2 separate regions of the Homo sapiens genome follow, and region 2 is linked to region 1. The links are contacts of gene promoters, found by promoter capture Hi-C in human tissues and cell types (Jung and others, 2019). All regions are on one chromosome and are shown on one strand. Each heading gives the region's core, a stretch centred on a gene start or on the middle of the fragment in contact. The rest is flanking DNA. Distances are from core to core; before and after follow the strand shown. Region 1 holds the start of AMPD1 (adenosine monophosphate deaminase 1). Region 2 overlaps DENND2C (DENN domain containing 2C).

Region 1 (5,257 bases), core at 1,917-4,416:
CAGATCACTTGAGGTCAGGAGTTCGAGACAAGCCTGGCCAACATGGTGAAACCCTGTCTCTACTAAAAATACAAAAATTAGCCAGGCGTGGTGGCGTGCACCTGTAATTCCAGCTACTCAGGAGGCTGAGGCAGGAAAATCGCTTGAACCCAGGAGACAGAGGTTGCAGTGAGCCAAGATCACCCCACTGCACTCCAGACTGGGTGACAGAGCAGGACTCCATCTCAAAAAAAAAGAGTCACTGAATGTTTCCGAACTGAGAATATAATGATCAAGTGGTTTTTCAGAAGATTTAACCTGGTGGTATTATGCAATATGGATTGGAGGCAGGGGAAATAATTAGGAATCTATTACAATTATCCAACTTTGAGGTAACTCATGACTTATCAGGTAGAATTACATTGGCTTCTAATAATAAAAAAAACTGACTAATCAGTGACTAAAACAAATTTACTTTTCCCTTTTTTTTTTTTTTTTTTTTTGAGATGGAGTCTTGCTTTGTCACCAGGCTGGAGTGCAGTGGTGTGATCTCAGCTCATTGCAACCTCCACCTCCCGAGTTCAAGTGATTCTCCTGCCTCAGCCTCCCGAGTAGCTGGGACTACAAGCATGCACCACCACACCCAGCTAATTTTTGTATTTTTAGTAGAGACGGGGTTTCACCATGTTGGCCAGGATGATCTCGATCTCTTGACCTCGTGATCTGCCTGCCTCGGCCTCCCAAAGTGCTGGGATTACAGGCATGAGCCACTGCGCCCAACCATTTTTCTTATGTATCAAGAAGTCTTGCTGGGTATGGTGATGCATGTTTGTACTCCCAGCTACTCAGGAGGCTTGGGTAGGAGGATCACTTGAGTCCAGGAGTTCTGGGCTATAGCAATCTATGCTGATCAAGTGTCCACACTAATTTCAACATCAACAGGGTGACCCTCCAGGAGCGGGGGACCACCAAGTTGCCTAAGGAGTGAACTAGCCCAGGTCTGAAACAGAGCAGGTCAAAACTCCTGTGCTGATTTTAGTAGTAGGATCACTCCTGTCAATAACCACTACACCCTGGCCTGAGCAACATAGTGAGACCCTGTCTCTTAAAAAAATTCCTTAATTAAACAAGAATTCTAAATATGGGAAGTCCTGGACTAATATGGTGGCTTTAGGATGCCATCAGGGACCCTAATTATTTGTTTCTGTTCAGATAGTCTTCATGTGGCTCTTGTCCTGCTCACCATTTGTGTTAAAACAATGGTTGGTTTGGAGGCCCCTATCCACATATTTCCTTTTTCAGGCAGGAAGAAGAGGAAGGGCAAAAGGCAAAACATATGCCAGCTGAGCTGGTCCCTTTTAAAAGAACTTTTGGAGACATCCCACCCAGCAATTCTGCTTACATCACTTTGGCCAGGCTGTGTCAAATGGCCGCTTCTAGCCACAAAGGATTCTAGCAAATGCTGTTTTTTGGCTGAGCACATTAATGCTCAAACCAAAGAAGTTTTTGTTTGTAAGAAAGGTAGGGAAAATGATCTTTGGGTAGGCAACTAGGGTATTTACACAATTGGAATGAGAAAATTGGAGTGTAACTTATATAAAGATAGGAATTACTGAAGGAGAAGCAGGTTCATGGAGGAAGATGCTTGGTTTGGATGTATCAATTTGTGGATACTGTTGGGAAATCCAGGTAAAAATGTAACAAAAAGGAGTTGGAAAGAAATGAACAAATATTTTGGTTCAGTAACACCTTTGTAATGTGTTGCAATATTGTTGATTGAGAGGTTGGCCATAAGGCTAAGCACTAAAATATTGTTAAGTTTTGCCAACAAAAAGGCTTGTCCCAATTTTCAAAAAGAAATAGTTAATAGTAAAAAGATCATTTGGTCTATGCCCATAATTCTGTTGCTAATCTGAAGTGCCAAGCTCATCTTCAATATAAGCTGTTATAATTTAAAATTTCTGCTGAGTCTAGCAGCGTACTTTCTTTACCTAGCAGCAACTATCAAATATTTAGTCATAACTGGCCGGGCGCAGTGGCTCACGCCTGTAATCCCAGCACTTTGGGAGGCCAAGGCAGGTGGATCATGAGGTCAGGAGATCAAGACCATCCTGGCTAACACAGTGAAACCACATCTCTACTAAAAATACAAAAAATATTAGCCGGGCATGGTGGCAGGCGCCTGTAGTCCCAGCTACTCGGGAGGCTCAGGCAAGAGAATGGCGTGAACCCGGGAGGCAGAGCTTGCAGTGAGCCGAGATCGCGCCACTGCACTCCAGCCCGGGCAACAGAGCGAGACTCTGTCTCGAAAAAAATATATGTATATACACATATATATACATATATACATATATATACACACACATATATACAGTCATAACTAAGACTGTGTGTTATTATGGAAAGAGCGTGAGATTTGGGTCCAGAGAGCCTTGGCTTTGCCATTTATGATGAACAGAATGACTTTGAGCAAGATACCTGTCAGAGCCCCAGTTTTCTTATTTGGGAAACAGGGATAAGGTATTACTTGCCTTACAGGATTGTAATTAGTATCAAATAGATAATGTTTGCCAAATGTTTTACATACAATAAAATGTTATACAAAACAAAGCTATTGTTCTTATTATAACAATAGGTAGAGAAGTGGTAACTGGATACTCTGGAGGACAGTTGAGTTTCTGTAAAAGACTTGAAGTAAATTTAACACTTAATTCATTAAACTGTCAACTGAAGTTCTGCTAAGTCAGACACATTACTAATAAAAACATGCATTCCTGAGCGTGTGTGCGTGTGCGTGTGTGTCTGTTGAGAGCTTGATGAATGTACCAGCATATTCACCAACCACAGAAAGCTGTTTGCGTGATGTGAAACCCTGAGGATCATAGCTTCAGAAACCGGAAAGACTTCACTGTATTTCACTAGGGTGGGATATCACCATCAGTGGTCCTACACTTGCCAAAGATCCAGTCTGTAAGAAGATTTAGAGAGTATTGAAATGCAATTTTTGGCCCACCACAGATATCTTCTAATCCCAAAGTAAAGACTGAAAGCTTCACCTGTTTTTCACTATCAAATGCCTCAAGCTATAAATAGGTCCAAAGCTCATCTCTCTCCACTTAGCAGAGAAGAATCAAATTTCCGGGGGCAAAGCAAAATAATAAAATGAATGTCAGGATATTTTATAGTGTCAGTCAGTCACCCCACAGTCTCCTCTCTCTTCTTTTCTACTGTGCTATCCTAGAATCAAGGATTTCAGCAACAATGCCTCTGTTCAAACTCCCAGGTAGGTGTACAAAGTGTTTGGAGAGCTCAGTTGTTGTTGTTTTTTTTTTTTTTTGACAAGCAACTGTTCCTTTAGCTACCATATCAGCTTTGATCATTCATTTAGGGTTCGTGATAGCTTTAACATACATTTCAGGAAAACACAAAATATTTTCAAGGGTTTTTTGTTTGTTTTTAGTTTTGGGATGTGGGTAAGTTTCTAAAACTGTTATCATGTATATTGCATCTTTGATGATCCCAGTAGAAAACTCTGTGAAATATTTAATATCTATTCTGCTAGTCTAAACAAAACCTGTGCTGCCATAGCTCTGAGACGGCTTCTACATAATGACTCTAGCTATGGTATTGGCTGAAAATCATGAACATGACAAAAATAACCCATGTGTGTATTCTGATGGTTCACGAGAATAGCTTTCTGTTGTCCAGGTTTGTACGCAGAGTAATTTTTAAAATAATAATGTTATAATTTTTAAATGATAAAAGCAATACATGTTTCATGTGAAATAGAAATTGTGCTGAAAAAATAAAAGTAATAAACATTCGTTTTGAAAGTTGGGAAATTCAGTAAAAGTAATAATTTTATTTTTTACTTATTTATTTATTTTTTGAGACAGGGTGTCACTCTGTTGCCCAGGCTGGAGTGCAGTGGCACGATCACGATTCACTGCAGCCCCAATCTTCTGGGATCTGGTGATCCTCCCACCTCAGCCTCCCGAGTAGCTGGGACTACAGGCACTTGCCACCACGCCCAGCTAGTTTTTGTATTTTCTGTAGAGACAGGGTTTCGCTATGTTGCCCAGGCTCATCTTAAACTCCTGAGCTCAAGCAATCTGCCTGCCTCAGCCTCCCAAAGTGCTGGGATTACAAGTGTTAGCCACTGCACCCAGCCAAAAGTAATAATTTTAAAAATCTGCACATCCATTATCCAAAGATATTCACTCTTAACATTTTAGTGTTTTTTTTTCTTTTCAATCTATTTTCTGTGTAAAATTAAAGAGTTTTTTTTAAAAAGGCACTGTTATTATATTGCACATGTAATTTTATATCCTGCTTTTGGCAGGATAATGTTTTGGCTTAACTTTACAACTTATCCTTTTACCATGGTATCCCAAACCTTTCCTAAAAACCATTTTAAAAGACTGCATATTCTATTTTCTTAATTAATCCCTTAGGTTCTTTATGGTTTGGGGGTTTTTTTTTGTTTGTTCGTTTTTGTTTTTGTTTTTGTTTTTTTAGAGACAGAGTCTCGCTCTGTCACCCAGGCTGGAGTGCAGTGGTGCGATCTTGGCTCACTGCAAGCTCCACCTCCCGGGTTCATGCCATTCTGCCTCAGTCTCCCGAGTAGTTGGGACTACAGGCGCCTGCCACCACGCCCGGCTAATTTTTATATTTTTAGTAGAGACGGTGTTTCACATATAACACAGTGAATATCTGTATTAGCCAGGATGGTCTCGATCTCCTGACCTCATGATCTGCCAGCCTCGGCCTCCCATAGTACCAGGATTATAGGCGTGAGCCACTGCACCCGGCCTCTTTATGGTTTTTTTAAGTATAAGTATGTTCTGATAACAATATTGACACCTAAAGCTTTTTCCATGTTTAAGGATGATTTCCGTAGGATAGCTTCTCAGAAATGGTTGTTTGGTAGGTGTTACTAAATTGTTTACCAAATGAGCTGTTTTAAGTTTACTACTACCAACATCATATGAGCATTCCCATCTTTCTTCATCAGATATTTTTAAAAATCATATTTTATAGAGAGTGCCTTTTAAAAAGTATACTTATAAATGTTAAGAGACATATTAGAAAAGAAAAGAAAATGAAGAGCTGTATAATGACCATATTCCCAAGCTTTCTGATGGCAGAAAACTGTAGACAAGCTGGAAGGCTGAGCTGAAATAACAGCAATCTACATGTGTCTACCCCAAAGCAGTGATTAATAGCCACCATGATTACAGAAAGTTGTTCACATATTTTATCTTGTTTTATTTTACTT
Region 2 (5,257 bases), core at 1,318-3,817, 50 kb after region 1:
AAAAGAGTTAAAAGTAGTAATGAAAGTAGATACATAGCATGGTGCCTGGCAAATGTAAACACTTAATAAGTAATAATTATTTAAAATATATGCTATACAGGTCAGGCGTAGTGGCTCACATCTGTAATCTCAGCACTTTGGGAGGCTGAGGCAGGCGAATCACTTGAGGTTAGGGGTCACAGACCAGCCTGGCCAACATGGCAAAACCCCGTCTCTACTAAAAATACAAAAATTAGCCAGACTTGGCAGTGCATTCCTTTCACAAACATTACCTAATGGTATAAAGAAGTGATTTAGAAGCCAACTAAATGGCTTGAGAAACCAGGAGAATATTAGAGACTATTGTCACCAGGTTGTACAATAGTGGATTATTGAACCCGAGAGGCAGAGGTTGCAGGGAGTCGAGATCACGCACCCAGCCTCGGTGACAGAGCAAGACTCTGTCTAAAAAAAAAAAAAATCACATTGTACTCCATAAACATACACAATTGGAATTGATCAGTTAAAAATAAAAATTAAAAAAGAAATAATTCTTCCTTCTTCTGAGTAAACAAAGGAAAGGGTTGTTTACATTATATATTCATACAACTTTTGGCCACCTGGTTATTTTAGCAGACCCCTGAATATTCTCTCTCTCTCTCTCTCTCTTTTTTTTTTTAAGATAGAATCTCACTCTTTTGCCCAGGCTGGAGTTCAGTGGTGCAATCTTGGCCCACTGCAACCTGTGTGCCTCCAGGGTTGAAGCAGTTCTCCTGCGTCAGCCCCCTGAGTAGCTGGGATTACAGGCATGCACCACCACGTCCAGCTTATTTTTGTATTTTTAGTAGAGACAGGGTTTCGCCATGTTGGCCAGGCTGGTCTCAAACTCCCGACCTCAGGTGATCCTCCCACCTCAGCCTCCCAAAGTGCTGGGATTACAGGCATGAGCTACCGTGCCTGCCCTAAATATTCTCTGTTTACCTAGGTGAAATGGTGAACATTAAAGCTAATGCATGTGTAAGTCAGAATACCTTATTATGGACTCATGATCTACCAGAGGTACACAAGATGGTACATTAGGATGTGAAAAAAGCATTAGAAATGCTACTTGTATTCATTTTCATCTAAAAATAAATTAAGCTTTTCTAAATATTTAATATACAGTTTGACACTGGTGCTTTCTCTGGATCAGACTTTATATAAGGAATGATCCCCAAGGGAAGAGTAGACATTCCCTCAAACAAAACGGAGTTGGCGGTGACATCCTCACTTGTTTGTGCACTTTTAGCTGTTGCAACATAGAGCAGTTCATATGTGTCCAAGTAGGTGGATTTACAGATTATATCTTAAATAATAGAATCATTATAATCCTTTGAAAATGAGAAGTGTCACAGTCATGAAAATATATCGCACACTAGTTTTTTGATTACGTTATGGAAAAGTATTTTTTAAAGTTGCAAAACTTAAAATGTCACACCATTTTCCTTTTCCAAAGAAAAGTGTTCTAAAATTGTTGATTTTCTGTAATGACAAGTGGTTGTCAGCAAAAAATTATCTTAAACATGTTCAGTGTGTCCCTACGAGGTAAACATGATGTTTTAACAATGAATAACAGGCCGGGCGCAGTGGCTCACACCTGTAATCCCAGCACTTTGGGAGGCTGAGGCAGGCGGATCACAAGGTCAGGAGATCGAGACCATCCTGGCTAACATGGTGAAACCCCGTCTCTACTAAAAATACAAAAAAATTAGCCGGGTGTGGTGGCGGGCGCCTGTAGTCCCAGCTATTCAGGAGGCTGAGGCAGGAGAATGGCGTGAACCCGGGAGGCAGAGCTTGCAGTGAGCCAAAACGGCGCCACTGCACTCCAGCCTGGGCGACAGAGCGAGACTCTGTCTCAAAAAAAAAAAAGAATGAGAAATTGTTTTTCTAAAGAAACATGATTTGCAGACAAAATTTGATATTTCATAATATATCAATTATTACTTAATGTTGCCCAAAACAAAGAATGTGTTATCTGTAAAGCTCTCCTATCTACACACTTAGATTTTGAATCAGTTTGTTAAAAATTTTTAAATGTTCAGTTAGTTTGAAAGTACAGATGATAAACATTAGAGAAGATGAAAATTTACTAGTCAAATTTCAACAAAAATCCTTGCTTAATTTAAGGTGAATAGAATTGACAAATAAGTATTCTGATTCAGTCAGTGAAGCTCTTCTTTCATTGTTTTCCATGTATTTGTGGTGAGTTATCTTTTTCTATTACTGTGGCCTTTTGTATTAGTTTGCTAGGTCTACCATAACCAAATACCGCAGATTGAGTGGTTCAAACGCCAGAGATTGATATTCTCACAAGTCTGGAGGCTGTAGAAATCTAACATCAAGGTGCCAACAGGGTAAGTTTCTTGTGAGGCCTGTTTCCTTGGCTCGTAGATAGCAGTCTTCTCCCTGTGTCTTCACATGGTCTCCCCTCTGTCTGTCTGTGTCTAGGTTTCCTCTTTTTTTCGAAGTACACCAGTCATTGGATTAAGGCCCACCCTACTGACCTCATTTTAACTTAATTACCTCTCAAGAGACCTGATCTCCAAATCCAGTCATATTCTGAGGTGCTGGGGGTTAGGACTTCAACATATGAATTTTCAGGGGACACGGTTCGATCTATAACACCCTTAGAACCAAGTATTGAAATAAACTGAGTTTTGGACTAAATCTTTGAATCACTGTATCAAAAAAAACCACGTTTAATCACATTGCTCTTACTCAAAATATTTGTAGTTAAACTTCAGTGAGAATGAAATGGTTACTATACCCTCCTTTTACATATTTAATTTTTACTAATTTAAACTAGTAAAATGATTTTTTAAATCTCATGCCTTTAAATTTTTAGTTTCAGTATGCTTTATAATGTTCATGATATTATTATAGTTTTATGTTTACAATTTATAAATAAATACATATAAATCAATTATTTTCTTCATTGGAGACCCCTGACTTAGATATTGCCCCTTCTCAAAATGTCTTTCTATCCTGAAGGTAGTATGTTATGTGCTATTAAATTATGCTTTTCAAATTGTAACAACGTATATGACCTTAGAAAGCCATCGAAACTTGCTAAACCTCAGTTTCCTCATCTAGAAAATGAAGATATCTTCCTCTAAGGATTGTTATGAGGATAGAATGAGATTATGCATGTAGTGCTTGGCAAATAGTAAATATACAAAAAACATTCTTATTGTGGTGTGAATTATTTAAATAAGTTATTTTGGTGTTACTCGTATTCTTAAACTATTCTAAGAAGCTTCCCCATTCTACAAATGGGGCAGCTTCAAATCATTGGAGGCACTTAAAGTAATAGGCACTGCAGATTTTTCGTAAGCCTTTTCCTTTTAAGCATTCTTATATTTAGGATTTTGTCATTCATTCAACAAATACTTACTGAGGGATTACTGTATGGTGCATACTCTTCTGGGTGCTGGGGATACAGTAGTAAAAAAGCTTATATTCCAGTGAGGGAGAGAAGTAAACAAATAAATAACACAATTTCAGATAAATGATAAGTTCTATGGAGAAAATATAGCAGAGTGAAGACATAGAAAATCATGTTGGAAAAGGAGCTTTATTTTAGATAGAATGAACACAGAAGGTGAAAATTGACTAGAAATAGAAAATGAGAGAGGAAGAAGTGATGGTGGCCTGGTTTGGTGTGTTAGCAGTAAAGATGATAAGTGGTGGGAATTTGATTTGTTTTAAAGGTGGAGTTAACAGGAATTACCATTGGATTAGTTATGGGGATAACACCTAGGGTCATGTAGCTGTGGCAAATAAACCCTCCAGTAGTACCCGTTACAATCAGTAAACAGCAAAGAAAAGGAATTGTAGTCATTTGGAAGGTTTTATGAATAGTGCGGATAACCAACCATGTAACACAATCATGAAATTAGCATTATTCTAAGTCTTTGGCTTATGCCTCAAAATTCTGAATATAATCTGCATATGTCAGCTATCATTTTTCATTCTTTCATTTTAAAAAACCTGAAAAAATTTCCATGACAAATATCTCAACAGACTTGATGGAACTGTTAAAGAATTAAATTTATTTTTTAAAGATTCTTACATATTTCTTGATTTACTAATAGGCACAGTAATGGCTTGAGAAATTTATATTATGTGTTATAAGCAATATTAGGAGTTTATTTAAAGTTTCTTTGTTATTTTGGGAACCATTTTTAGTTACTTATAAGGCTGTTTCCTCTGATAGGAGTGAGATAAAAGGCTGGTATCCTGTATGTGCTTGCTTTGAAGATTTGTTATTCAAGGAACAGTCAACAAGATGATAGAGGTTTGAAAAGTAGAAGCCTGTTTGACACTTTTTTTCCCTATTAGTCTGGTCCTTTATTATTTGTTTTAAAATATTTTTAGCCACATTTAATGAAGAATCTTATGCAAGATATATTCCTGTGGGCTTTATTAAAAATGTATTGAGGCTTTCGATTAAATAATGTGTTAATGTAATAGAAATTTGAAAAACCAAATAATGCGAACAGTGCAAGTTCCCACCCAACTTCCTGAGCAGAATTTATGTTGTTCATTTTTTTCCCTGACACAAGCCTTAGCATCCTCTGCTGTAACAAGTTCAGGAGTGACATTCTGAGATTGAGGTTTACTTTAAGTCTTCTAAGACAGCATTGCAGAAGCATTTACTTGTCACTATTCATACTACCTCCCCTTCAGTCTTATCCCTGACTTTCCTCTTTTTCTAAGTGTCTCCAGCAAGAATGAGTGTTAAGAGTCTTGAGGTCATGGCAAAGACATACACAGGTATTTGCTATAAGGCAAATTCAGAATTGTAAAAGTATAACAATATGCAAATAGGTGTAATAGAAGCACACAAAAGGAGTGATTAACTCTGGGGAAAGGGCTAAGGAAGCTTTCACGGAAAAACTTTCAACTGATCTTGAAAGTACATGGTGTATTCAGAGAGAAATTTATAGTACCTGTCATTTATTGAGCAGTTACTGTATTCCAGTCACTGTCTTAAACATTTTATTTACTTTATCTGATATTTAATCCTCACAACCTTATAAAATAAATATCTGTATCTGTTGTGCCAAAGGATGCTAAGACATGTATTTGTTACTTAACCTCTTGGTGCCTCATTGCCTTATCTGTAAAATGAGATTAACAGTAGTATCTACCTCATGGGGTTGTTACAAGAATTAGGTGAGTTAATATGGTTAAAGTTAGTAGAGCTATGCCTGGCTCATATTAAGTGCTCAGTAAG

The links. The method cuts DNA at HindIII sites, captures the fragments that hold promoters and counts their contacts. A contact is called where the count stands out against the background at its distance.
Region 2: a contact is called between a fragment that was not itself captured here and the fragment with the promoter of AMPD1 in region 1, in 1 of the 25 tissues and cell types used here (psoas muscle).

Annotation. Positions count from the first base shown.
Region 1 is chr1:114,693,455-114,698,711 of GRCh38, reverse strand. It overlaps AMPD1 (adenosine monophosphate deaminase 1), which reads left to right and starts at 3,166. Exons shown (of 16, transcript NM_000036.3): 1 at 3,166-3,262. The coding sequence starts at 3,241. It also overlaps the pseudogene RN7SL432P. The HindIII fragment of the contact is 10,350 bases long and covers 1-5,257 here.
Region 2 is chr1:114,642,563-114,647,819 of GRCh38, reverse strand. It overlaps DENND2C (DENN domain containing 2C), which reads left to right. Exons shown (of 21, transcript NM_001256404.2): 3 at 2,261-2,372. Among named protein-coding and RNA genes, the nearest start is that of DENND2C, 25 kb to the left of the region's middle. The HindIII fragment of the contact is 5,072 bases long and covers 32-5,103 here.